Linked DNA regions of Homo sapiens: region 1 is linked to region 2. Evidence: promoter capture Hi-C in human tissues and cell types (Jung and others, 2019). All regions are on one chromosome and are shown on one strand. The core of a region is centred on a gene start or on the middle of the fragment in contact, and the rest is flanking DNA. Distances in the headings are between cores, read along the strand shown.

Evidence for each region. Contacts are between HindIII fragments. The study calls those that stand out against the background at their distance.
Region 1: a contact is called between a fragment that was not itself captured here and the fragment with the promoter of PDYN in region 2, in 1 of the 25 tissues and cell types used here (dorsolateral prefrontal cortex).

What each region holds. Positions count from the first base shown.
Region 1 is chr20:2,157,521-2,163,468 of GRCh38, forward strand. No RefSeq gene overlaps it. Among named protein-coding and RNA genes, the nearest start is that of LINC03086, 46 kb to the right of the region's middle. RefSeq lists an enhancer at 5,534-5,948. The HindIII fragment of the contact is 3,078 bases long and covers 194-3,271 here.
Region 2 is chr20:1,989,068-1,995,350 of GRCh38, forward strand. PDYN (prodynorphin) reads right to left here and starts at 4,991. Exons shown (of 4, transcript NM_024411.5): 1 at 4,844-4,991; 2 at 3,517-3,576. All of the region lies in intron 3 of PDYN-AS1 (PDYN antisense RNA 1), which reads left to right. RefSeq lists an enhancer at 4,531-5,361. The HindIII fragment of the contact is 29,966 bases long and covers 470-6,283 here.

The DNA.
Region 1 (5,948 bases), core at 483-2,982, 170 kb after region 2:
CTCACAGGAACTGCACTCTGTACTTCCCCTGGGATCAATGGTTCAGTATTTGCTAATTCAGTGTTCGTGGACACTTTACAAAACATAACTACCATGAATAACAAGAATTAATCATAGTTTGTTCGTGGGCCGGAAAACTCAAAGTCATTAAGATGGCAATTCTCTCTGAACTCACCTATAGATTCACTGGAATCCCCACCAAAATCTCAGCAGGCTCTTTTTGTAGGAGTCGACAAGCTGATTTTAAAACTCATATAAAAAAGTAAAGGGGCCTAAAATGGTCAAAACAACTCTAAAAAAGAACAGTTAGAGGGCTAACACTATCTGATTTGAAGAAGTATTATGAAGCTACATTAATCAGAACAGCATGGTATTGGCATAAAGATAGGCATATAGATCAACAGACAAGAATAGTGAGTCCAAAATTAGATCCACATGTATTTAGACAACTGATTTTTGACAAAGTTACAAAGGCAGTGCTGTGGAAAAAGGCTAGCGTTTTTAACAAATGGTGCTAGAATAACCAGATAACTATATTTAAAAAAATAAACTCAATATATGCCTCACACTGTATACAAAAGTTAAATCGAAGTGGATCAAAGATTTAAATATAAAATGACAAAACTTCTAGGAGAAAACATACAAGAAAATCCCGATGGCACTGGCAGATATCTCTTAGATGACAGCAAAAGCACAATTTATAAAAGAACAAATGGATAAATTGAACCACATCAAAATTTAAAACTTCTGTATTTCGGCCGGGCGCAGTGGCTCACGCCTGTAATCCCAGCACTTTGAGAGGCTGAGGCAGGCAGATCACGAGGTCAAGAGATCAAGACTATCCTGGACAACATGGTGAAACTCCATCTGTACTAAAAATACAAAAATTAGCTGGTCGTGGTGGCACGTACCTGTACTCCCAGCTACTCAGGAGGCTGAGGCAGGAGAGTCGCTTGAACCCAGGAGGCGGAGGTTGCAGTGAGCCGAGATAGTGCCACTGCACTCCAGCTTGAAGACAGAGCAAGACTCCATCTCAAAAAAAAAAAAAAAAACCTAAAAACTTCTGCATTTCAAGGGACACTGTTAAAAGAATAAACAGACAAAACAGACTGGGAGAAAATCTTTACAAAGCATGTATTTAATAAAGAATTTGTATCAAGAATATAAAGAACTGTCAAAATTGAATAATAATAAAACACCCCCGCAAGCTGGCAAAAGATTTGAATAGACATGTCACCAGAGACCATAAGCATGGCAAACTGCACATAAAAAGATGCTCAACATCATTTGCCATCAAGGAAAATTAAATTGAAAAGTTTTAAATTTAAATTTAATTGTTTTATACTTAAGTTGTAAACATTTTAAATTTAAATTTAAAGATCAAATTAGGCCGGGCACAGTGCCTCACGCCTGTAATCCCAGCACTTTGGGAGGCCGAGATGGGTGGATCACCTGAGGGCAGGAATTGCAGACAAGCCTGGCCAACATGGTAAAACCCCGCCTCTACTAAAAATACAAAAATTAGCTGGGCGTGGTGGCATGCACCTGTAAACCCAGCTACCCAGGAGGCTGAGGCAGGAGAATTGCTGGAACCTGGCAGGCAGAGGTTTCAGTGAGCCGAGATCACACCACTGCACTCTAGCCTGGGTGACAGAGCAAGACTCCGTCTCAAAAAAAAAAAAAAAAAAAAATCAAATTAAATCTCCAATAAGGTGCTACTTGCTACACACCTATGTTGGTAAGTAGGAGGAAGAACTGGAACTCTTATGCCCTGTTGGTAGGATGGAAAATGGTATTACCACTTTTGAAACACTTCAGCAATTTCTTAAAAATTAACCATAAACTCCAGCCATTTCACTTCCAGGTACTTACTCAAAAGAAAAGGAAATCCATGTTCATGCAAAGACTTAGATAAGTACATCTTTATTTATAATAGCCCCAAACTGGAAACAACCCATCTGTCCATCTGCATATCAATGCATGGATAAAAGAATTGTGGTATATCCACACAGCCAAATGCTACTCAAGAACACAAAGGAAAACTAGGCATACATGCAGTAACATGGGTGAGTCTCAAAGTAACAATGCTGAGGGAGAGGAACTAGACACAAAGAGTATGATTTTATTTACATAAAACGCTAAAAAATGCAAACCAATCTATAGTAACTGAAAGCAAGTCAGTGGTTCCTTCAAGATGGTGAAGGGCTGCAGGGGAATATGACAAAGATACCCGAGGAGGGCCGGGGGCAGTGGCTCACGCCTGTAATCCCAGCACTTGGGGAGGCCGAGGCCTGTGGATCCCTTGAGGCCAGGAGTTTGAGACCAGCATGACCAACCAACATGGTGAAACCCCATCTCTACTAAAAATACAAAAATTAGCGGGGCGTGGTGGCAGGCGCCTGTAGTCCCAGCTACTAGGGAGGCTGAGGCATGAAAATCAGTTGAACCCAGGAAGCGGAGGTTGCAGTGAGCTGAGATCGCACCACTGCACTCCAGCCTGGGCAACAGAGTGACAGTCTGTCTCAAAACAAAACAAAAAACCAAAGATACCTGAGGAGAATTAGTTGTGACGGGTGTGTTCACTCCCTGGAATACGGTGACGATTTCATGCGTGTACACATATGTCAAAACTTATTAAGTCGTATATTAAAATATGGGCAATTCATTGTGTGTCAACTATACCTCAATCAAATTGTTTTTAAAAAGTAGGAAGGACATAAGAGTTCACCTGAAGGGGCCCCTACCTGGAGGCCAAACTTGGAACAATTTGAGCGTCAAATAAGAACAGTGATGATAATGGATTTACAACACATCGAACAATAATAATAGTTTTTTAATCTGTGTATGATGATACTACGAAAGCAGGGGAGAGGGAAGGGAGAGGAAAGCTTTACAGAAGAACATAGAAAGGATAATGGGAAAAATCTCTATTTGCAGCTACTAATGCAATAATTGATTCAGGCAAGGCATCAATAGCTGCTAAAATCACTATGTGAAAATTCGTGAGGAAACAGGTACTCACATATCTCAAATATCATAATTCATCACACAGATGAATTACTATGTACAAAAGGAAAGATTAGCTTTATAATGGAGAGATCTTCGGGAACACATTAGTCAAATGATCACACCTTAGCATTACCAATGATGAGACAAACTGGCAGGAGGCCCCTCCTTATATAACACAATGGGAGACACAGCCTCCCCTCTGCAGATCTCGTGCCCAGAATGCTTAGCCAAGTCTAATCACAAGGAAACAATCAGACACACCCAAATTGAGGAACATTCTACAAGACACCTGGGCTGTCTCTTTTACAAATGTCAATGTCATGAAAGGAAAAAAAAGGTGGGGGCGATGGTACAGTGGGGACTATTCATTCCAGATTAGACCCTAAAGGAATGTAACAACCAAAGGAAGTGCCTGATCCTTGATGGAATCCCGTACTGAAAAGAATAAAAGTAAAACTGCTATAAAGGACATTATCGAGACATTTGGGGAACTAGAATATGAGCTGTATGAGGACAGCCTTGTAACAATGTTAAACATTTTGGTTATTCTGGTATTTAGTTAGTATTTTTGTTGTGTGGGAGAATGCCGCTTGTTGTAGTATTCTGCTTGATACACGGATGCATGCCCAAGTTTTTAGGGGTGAAGCTTTATGATATCTCTCTCGCTCTCTCCCACCCTGCCCTACCCCAGCCACATACCTGCCTACCAAGAGAACAGCACAAATGTGGCAAAATGCTAACTAGGGAGGCTTGGCGAAGGGTGTAAGGGTATTCATTGCATGATTCTTTTAATTTCTCTGTAGTACAAAAATATTCAAATTAAAAGCTAGAGGGCAGGCTGGGCGTGGCAGCTCACGCCTGTAATCCCAACACTTTGGGAGTCCGAGGCAGGTGGATCATTTGAGATCTGGAGTTCAAGACCAGCCTGGCCAACATGGTGAAACCCCATCTCTACTATAAAAAAAAAAAAAACAAAAATTAGCCGGGCATGGTGGCAGACATCTATAATCCCAGCTACTCAAGAGGCTGTGGCAGGAGAATCATTTGAACCCAGGAGGCGGAGGCTACAATGAGCTGAGATCGTGCCTCTGCACTCCAGCCTGGGTGACAGAGTGAGACATCATTTAAATAAATAAATAAAAGCTGGAGGGGAAAGGTAGGGGTGGCTGGTCCAGAAGGGTCCTTCCAGCTCCAAGAGTCAGCTACCAGCTCTGACCTTTGATTGCCAGTACCTGGGCCCCTCCTGCCCACCTGGCAGCATCTTCCTTCTCCCAGCAGCCATGGTGCTGTCCATCCTGCCGGACCTGGACCACTGGGAGCAGGAGGTCACCTCCTCCTGCCCATAGCTCAGAATGAAAGCATAGGTGAGTTGCAGAGGAGGGAGCAAATATGGAGAAGTAATAGATGGGCAGGCTGCAGATGGGAGGGAGCATGGCCTCAGGAGGTAGGGGACCCCCAGATCTGTTTGTAGATGAGAGACCCACAGCTGCCACTCTGTGCATGTTGATAGGACCAGACTTGCCCTCAGGTCTGCTGGCTGGAAGCCTGCAGTGGTGTCCATCCCTCCGAGTCCTCACCATGCATACATCCTCTACTCTCCTCTCCCCTCACTCACGCCGTTCCAGCCTCCCCACACCCCCACCCTGCCCTGAGCTGCTGTGTTATGGCAAGGACACACAGGCCTGCCCCAGGGCCCCTGCACTTGTTCACTCTCCTGCACTGCTTCCCCCTGCCCCTGCCCTGATGTCTGCCCAGCCACACCCTCGCCTCTGTCTTCCTTGCTGGCTTTGTTTTTGTTTTTCTCCAGAGGACACATCACCATGTGACATCCCACCTGCGTGTCATGCTTCTTGTCTGTCTCTCCCCCCACATGCCAGGGGCATCATTTTTATCCACTGTGTTCGCTGCCATATCCCCAGCATCTAGTAGGGTGCAGGGTACATGGTAGATGCTCAGTAAAGAGTTTGTGAGTGAATGACTCCAAAGCCAGGTTTCTGCTTTCCCTTGGACAGTGGTGTCTGTGTGTGAATGTGTGTGTGTGTGTGTGTGTGCGCGCGCGTGCACGTGTGTCAGTTGGGCAGGTTGGAGGGTGTCCAGCCAGCTGGGTCATTCCTCTGGGACTCATTTCCTGGGGTGCAGGCAGAGTTCTCAGAGGGCTGTGAGGACGCCACTTGCAGCATCAACACATTACATAATCTGGCACTGGACAGCGGTGAGGGGCAGGCAAAGCCTTTATTCTGTGTTTGCCCAGAGAAACTTCCCCAGGTCATGTCCTAAGCTGCCAGCTCTTCAGCTTTGTGCTCTCTAATTGCCCTGACAGATCCCACCACCCATTCACCCGGCCCACTGGCTCTGAAAGAAGACTGCATGGGTGACGCTCGGAGCTTGGGAGGAGCCCAGGCCCTGGTATGTTCTGGATGCTGTTGCCTGGGGCCTGAGCCCCACCCAGGCAGTGATGACCCTGCGAGGCCGAGCCTCTCCATCCTCCCGTCTGTACACGCGCAGGGCTCCAGGTGCTCCCTCTGGTGCCGCCTCGCTGCCTTCTGAGCTTTCCTGAGCTTGGACTCATGGCCTGAGCTGCCCCTGTGGGCACAACCGGATGCCTCCTCCTACCCACAGAGTGGCTCAGGTAGCTCATCCTCTGTCCACCTGGGACTAGCACTGTCACTGACCTCTCAGAGTTATGGGGACACGGTGCATGTCAGGAGTCCAGCTCCTTCTCAAAGGTCAGTGAGTGACAGCTATTGTTGTAGTCACAGTCCCTGAGGGTCCACAGTGAGCAAGGCCATGCCAGCTCCCGGGGCTTCAGAATCAGCCATCCCTCCAGTCCCTGCTTTGTTGGCACATGGAGCCCGGTACAGGGAGATACATATACATAAACAAACGTATACGTATACATCAGGCAGGGAGAGCTTTGAAGAGAGAAGTCAGGTCATGGG
Region 2 (6,283 bases), core at 3,741-6,240:
GTACTTTGACTGGTTTTATAAACATTTTATGATTCTAATAGTTTTTAAGCTAATTTTCTTGAGTCCTCAGGCACTTGAACATATTCTTAAATAATAAAACATTTTTTATGCCTTGCTAGTGGATGGATCTCTTGCCAGGAGGTCAGGTGGGTTTCCTGATGGAAGAGGCAGGAAGCAACTGGCCCCATTCTTCAGCCCTGAGCCCTTTCTAGTTGCCTGGACTGCTCTCCTGGCAAATACTGAGAGGACCTGGGGAGGCTTGCCTTGGGATTTACCTTTTCCTTGAGAGGGAAAGGCATGGGCTCTGCGGTCATTTGGTGCCACCTCCTCCACAAGCCTCAGTCTTCTCATCTGTGATTGGGGTGTATCATCTTCCTGCACTGAGACAGCACTGCTTAAAGGGCCAGCACAAGGTAGACCCTCTTTTCACCCAGGGCCCAGAGTTCCTTGAAAGGGAATGATCTTTTTGACGTCTTGGCTTCTCGATGATATTTCTATATTGTAGTCAGCTGAGGGCTCAGAGGAGCCGCAAGCGTTTTTATTTAAAAAGCCAGCATGGAATAATAATGGCTTGATTTAACATTGCAATTATCTCTCTGAGCACTTTAGCGCATATGATTACCCCTATTTGATGAAAGAGGAAATGGGAAAAGGTAGAAATGAAGTCACTTGTTTAAGGTCATATCATGAGTCACGAGGGAAATGGAGACAGAACTCCAGCCTCCCACACCTGAACCGTGACTCCCACTAAAGAGATGCCATTGTTTCAATGACCCTGCAATGACAACCATCCTAACAGCCAGCAAGGACTGAGACGCTGTTCTGCACCAGCCCCGTGCACTCCAGGTGCCTCCCGTGGACCCTACGGGGCAGGGGCTAATATTACAGCTTGGGATCCAGATGGGAAGGTGAGGATCAAGTGACAAAGTGCCTCTCCGTGGTCACAGAGCATGGCAGAGTTGGAATTCTCTAAGTCCATCGCATTCCTCATTTAGGGTGTAGCTATGAGAAGGGACAAGCTCTTTGCTGTCCACTTTATCTCAATTATTTCTCTCTTCTCTTGAAGAGAATCCAGTGGGTTGGGAACTATTAGTTCCATTTCCAGATGGGGAAAACAGAGGCTCAGAGTCTAAAAGACTGGGCCAAGACCAAGAAGCAAGGAAACAGCAGAATAAGATTTCAGAGTCAGTCTGCTGACCACGCCACAAACCATCCTGAGGCCTAAATATGTATCGAGTGTCTTTCGGATAACCTCCCAAACTCTCACATTCCTGACGTTGAAACCATTTCAGAAGCTTTTGCCCCACACTCGAAAGTGTAAAGTTCACCCTTGTGGGTCTCCAGGTGGTTGGCAAAGGGAGCCCCTGAACCTGGAAAAGCGGTGCCCCTTGTTAGGTGTTAGCATCGTAACGAAAGACGAATGATCAATGGGAAGGAGGCTCGGGTTCTGAACAGAAAGTAAACCCACACTTTAGCCTGGCAAAGATCAAAGCACAGAATCGGATGAGGGTCCCGTTTGGTGGTCGGCTGCATTTGCTGTGCAGAGACCAGAGGGAAAGACGGCCTTGCAGGCAGTGGTCCTGGTGGGATCATTCACTGCATATTTAAAAGAACGTTTTTCAAGAGCAAGGTTTGGATGGAACCGCCACCCTTTTTGTTATCTGGTGCAATTAAGGGATGGGGAGAAAGGCAAAAAGAGGATAAGCTAGAGAGATATGGAGATGAAGAGACATAGAGAGAGAGATGTAAAAAGAGAGAGTTAGAGATATAGACACAGAGAAAAAGACAGGGGCCCAAAAGAATGGCAGAGGTGAGAACTGCACACACAGAAAAAGAGACCGAGACACCGAGAAAAAGCAGAGAGAGGTGGAGGACCATATGGGAAGAAAAAATAAGATGAGACATAGAGATGGGGAGAGGACAAATGGGAATAGAAGGGAAGGGGGTGAGGAGGAGGGGAAGAAGAGGGAAAAAAGGGAAGGGAAGTGAACACAATAAGAGAGAGAGAAGTGGGGAGGGAGAGTAGATTTTGATTCAGGATGCTGACATACCGTGTGAATCACAAACACCAATTCTCTCCCTCCTGCTGCTCTCTGAGTCTGCCCTTTGTTCCTAGGGACCAGTGGGCAAGAGACCCTGCCACATAATAACTGCTCAGTAAACCGCTGTCAAGTTAAATCAAATCGTCCAGGAATAGGACAGGGACCAAATGGCAGTTCAAGCCAATGCATCAACAAATTGCCTCGGTGCATATGTCTGCGGCTTGTGGCCAGCCGCTCTGGCCAGTGGGATGACCTGGATGGACTCGGAGGAGCCCCCTGAGCCAAGCCATGTGCCTCATGGACCTAGGCCATCGTCCTCCTGCCAGGAGCATCAGTCTGGATCCAGGCTGGGAGGGACTGATGAGGCTGCGCTTCACAGCACTAACAGACCCCACTCCATTTCGAGGGTCTGATCCTGGGGCTTACCTGGGTGTCTCCAGCCGATGTTCACTGCCTACCACAGTGGCCAGCTCTGTCTCAGTGAAACAGGTTTATCACTTTGTCAGACCCAGCAAGATTAGCCAACATTCATGGGCTGAGATGAGTGAATACAGTGAGAGAAATCAGCTGTGTAACCACACTTTGTCAGGCATGCATTGAAATCGAACCAGTAACTATTGATCTCTCTTACAATGATGGAAGAGATCTAATAAATACGACAATTGTGCAGGAATGACCCAAGGAGGTGGGTAGTGGGAGGTGGATTTAGGGAGTATCGATCAAAAAGAGACTTCATGATCCTGATGCAGCAGATGAAATAAAAAGTCTTCTGCTGGGATGGGGAGGGGAAAGGAGCACCAGCCCCTCAAATGAAAATATTAGACATTAGATCATATCTCCTGGACATAGCACACAGCATGATGGAGTGGGATGATCAGCGATATGATAATCGATGGAGAGAAAGGTCCAACCTCACCACTTCGGAACAGTGAAAATCTGAGCAGTCATGCCAGTATTTATTGAGCACCTACTGAATGCCAGGCATTTTGCTATATCCCATTGGAGACTTGCAATAACCTTAGGAGGTGAATATTATTATTATTCTCATCATACAGGTAAAGAAAGTATGACTCAGAGAGGGACTTCTACTGTTCCAAAGTCACACAGTAAGTGAGTGGTAGGATCTGGGATTTCAGCCCAGCACTGTTTCAGGTGTTGTGAGACACACGTGTAGATGACAGATGGAAAATTCCTGCCTCCCAGGAGTTACTTCAAGAAACCTTAACTCCTTCCACGTGTTTTAAGATCGCAAATCTCTCAAATAGCCCCAGAGCTGATCCCTTTGCCTGCTCCCTTAAAATGTGCTGCCTTCCGCCACATAGCCTTGGGAACCAGTGTGACATCCCCCTCCCAGCTGCCAACAGAGGCATAGGGTTTGCCTGCCACCTATCACACCTCTAGCTCAGCTGGGGCAAAGCAGTGGGCTTGAGATCCCGTCAGTGAACGCAAACCACCCCCAGGCAGCATAACTCACCGGCTTGGGCTGCTGCAACAGCTCCCCCCACGCAGATCTCAAAGCCTGAAGATAAATGACCTGCAAAAATAGAACAAAGGCAAGGTGTGGTGGGACTGGGGGGAGAAGAGGAGGGGAAAAGAGAAGGAAGGTGCCACAGAGGGGTGGGAGTGAGGCCTGGGGTGAGAAAGAACAGAAGAGGATCGACATTCTGCAATGCTTTGCAATGGATCTCGACTGGGATGCCTGTCAAATTAGAAAGGCAAGCCTTGTATATTTCAGCAACCCTTGGAAGAAAGATGATAATGAAGACTTTCAGTCTGTGGGAGGGGAATTGAAATCAGATCCAATAATCGAAAGAGCTTGTTTCCCCTGGGAAGACTGGAGACTTAATTAAGTAATGTTTGTAGAGCTTGGAGGGATTCTTGATACCCAGGAAAAAGTAAGCAGTTGCAGAATTTACTCTTCAACCTTGGAGTAGTCAGCAGGCTTTTTTTTTTTTTTTTTTTTTCCTGAAACTCATCAGCTTTTTGCTAGAATCAAACTTTGAGACTTGGTACTTTTCTGAATATGGGTCTCTGGACCAGTGAGCAAATGGCTTTCCCTTTGAGCCTCCTCCTGGCCTTAGACTCCTCTGGCTGTAGTTAATAGGAGAGCAACAAGTCCTTTCCAAGTAAAATGGACAAGAAAATGCCTGCTAAGCCTGGGCCTCCTGGCTTGTTGTCACTCCCTTTTCCCATTCCCTTCCAACAAAACATCCCCAAACTTCAACCTGTATCAAATTCCATCAAAAGAAGCCGCTCAAACCAGCACCCTGTCAGCAATTAAACACAATCCGAAAAGAATGAAAAGGCCGAACCTGGCCGTACATTGATGTACATGTTATGTGATAAATGCCAGAGCCTTGGATCTCATTAATGTCCTCAAGCCATTGTTCTCTAAGTCCAGTGAGACTCATTGACCTTTAAAATCACCCTGATTAGTGAAACCTCTCACTTCTCCCATCCAGGGTGTCCCATTTTCCCCAGACCCTGGGAATGGCATGGGAACTGCTGTGTGGGAGACTGCAAGAAGGAGACCCTGGAGCTAAAGCCAAAGGGTGGTCCTCTTGGGAGAGAGCTTACCACCTGTTTAAGCCAGGACTGTGCAGAAAGGGAGAGTCCAAAGAGCAGTCTCTCACTGGTCTGGCTTTTGTGAACTAGCCTCCTAACTGTAACCACCTTTGCTAGATAATCAGACCCAAACCTAAAATCCCCAGCCCGAGCTCCCACCATCTCTAGGTCCAGAGGACCAGGAATAAGCAAATAAAACCAAGCGATAGAATTCCAGTGCCCCCTCTGGATGTTACCTGCACTCTGCTTTGTCCCTGGGCAGCTTCTGGCCGAGCAGGTCGGAGGTGGCAGTGGCTGGTCCAAGGCTCAGGGGCCTCCTTGACTCCGGCTTGGGAGGAGGTGCCAAAGAGGCAGCTGTGAACACCACCAAAGCCCCTTCAAATGGCAGTTCTGGTGCCTCTTCCCCCCTTTTATGGACGAGAGCCTCCCCTGTCGCTCAGCCCTTGCTGAGCACAGGCTGCTGGGAGCCAATGGGGAAGTGGCTGAGAGCAGTCAGAGCACAGACCCCCAGGCCCTTCAACTCGAACTCCCTGGGCCTGACACAATAGGCTTCTCTTCGTGACAGGGATGTGGAGGAGGAAGGCAGCCGTGTTGGGGAGGGGGCGGATTCTGGGTGTAGTGCTGTTTGTCACTTGAAATCCGGCCACTTCAGTTTTTGATGCGTTTCCAGGAGAGTGTCACAGGAAAAAGAAGACAGGGAAGGACAGAGACAGAAGAGTTAGAGAAAGAGAGAGAGAGAGAGAGACTCAGAGAGAATCGGAAATCGAGAAAGAGGCAATGTCGGACCTAGGGAGTGATACAAAGGAGGGGAGAAAGAGAAAGAAAAACAGAGACAGAGAGTGGCAGAGATAGGGAGATGGGTAGAAACACAAGGAGAGAGGGACAGAGCAAGAAAAAAGGAAACCAGCCAGGTAGACTGTCAGACTCAAAACACACTGATCCACAGACAGACAGACGTGGAGACAGACAGAGGCTGAGACAGTCTTCTGATCACGGAAGAGAGTCGGAAGATGACAGCCGAGTCAGCAGGCACGTGCATGGCCCGCTGTTGCGTGCCGTGGCAACTCTGTGTTGGCTGGTGCACGCGTGTGCTGGAATCTTTTTGTGTGTACATTTGCCTGCAAACGGCATTCGGCTCTGGTACATGCCTGAGCTGGTGCCAGGCACACTAGCCCTGGCAGAAGCACAGCTCTTCCCCGACAGCCAGGAGCTGCAGTTTAGTTTTCTCTGGCGGCAACACAAAATGAATAGCAGGAAAAACCCCTCAAAATATGGGCTGCAATATGCCTCAGCACACACTCTGGGTGAGGGATGGACCCACCTCAATATACCCTTGGCCTGGACCAGCAGCAGCTTGAAGGTGGCACTCTTCATTGCTACAGAGATCTTCCAGAACATAAGGGTCTTTGAGTTTGGAAGAGAACATGCTTCTCTTCTCAGTCAATAGCAGACAGTTTGTGGTGGGAGGCACAACTATTTCAGAAGTCTGGCAGGGCCGCCCATTTTGTGGGCACCTGGCTGCACCAGGCGGTTAGGTAGAGTTGTCAGATTTAATCCTCATGACCTAGCCAGTTGGTTAATATTATCCCCATCTTGCAGATGAGAAAACAGAGGTTTGAGAGCTGAGAAACTTTCCTAGAGACACACAGCAAGTAAGTCATCCAGCTAGAACCTAA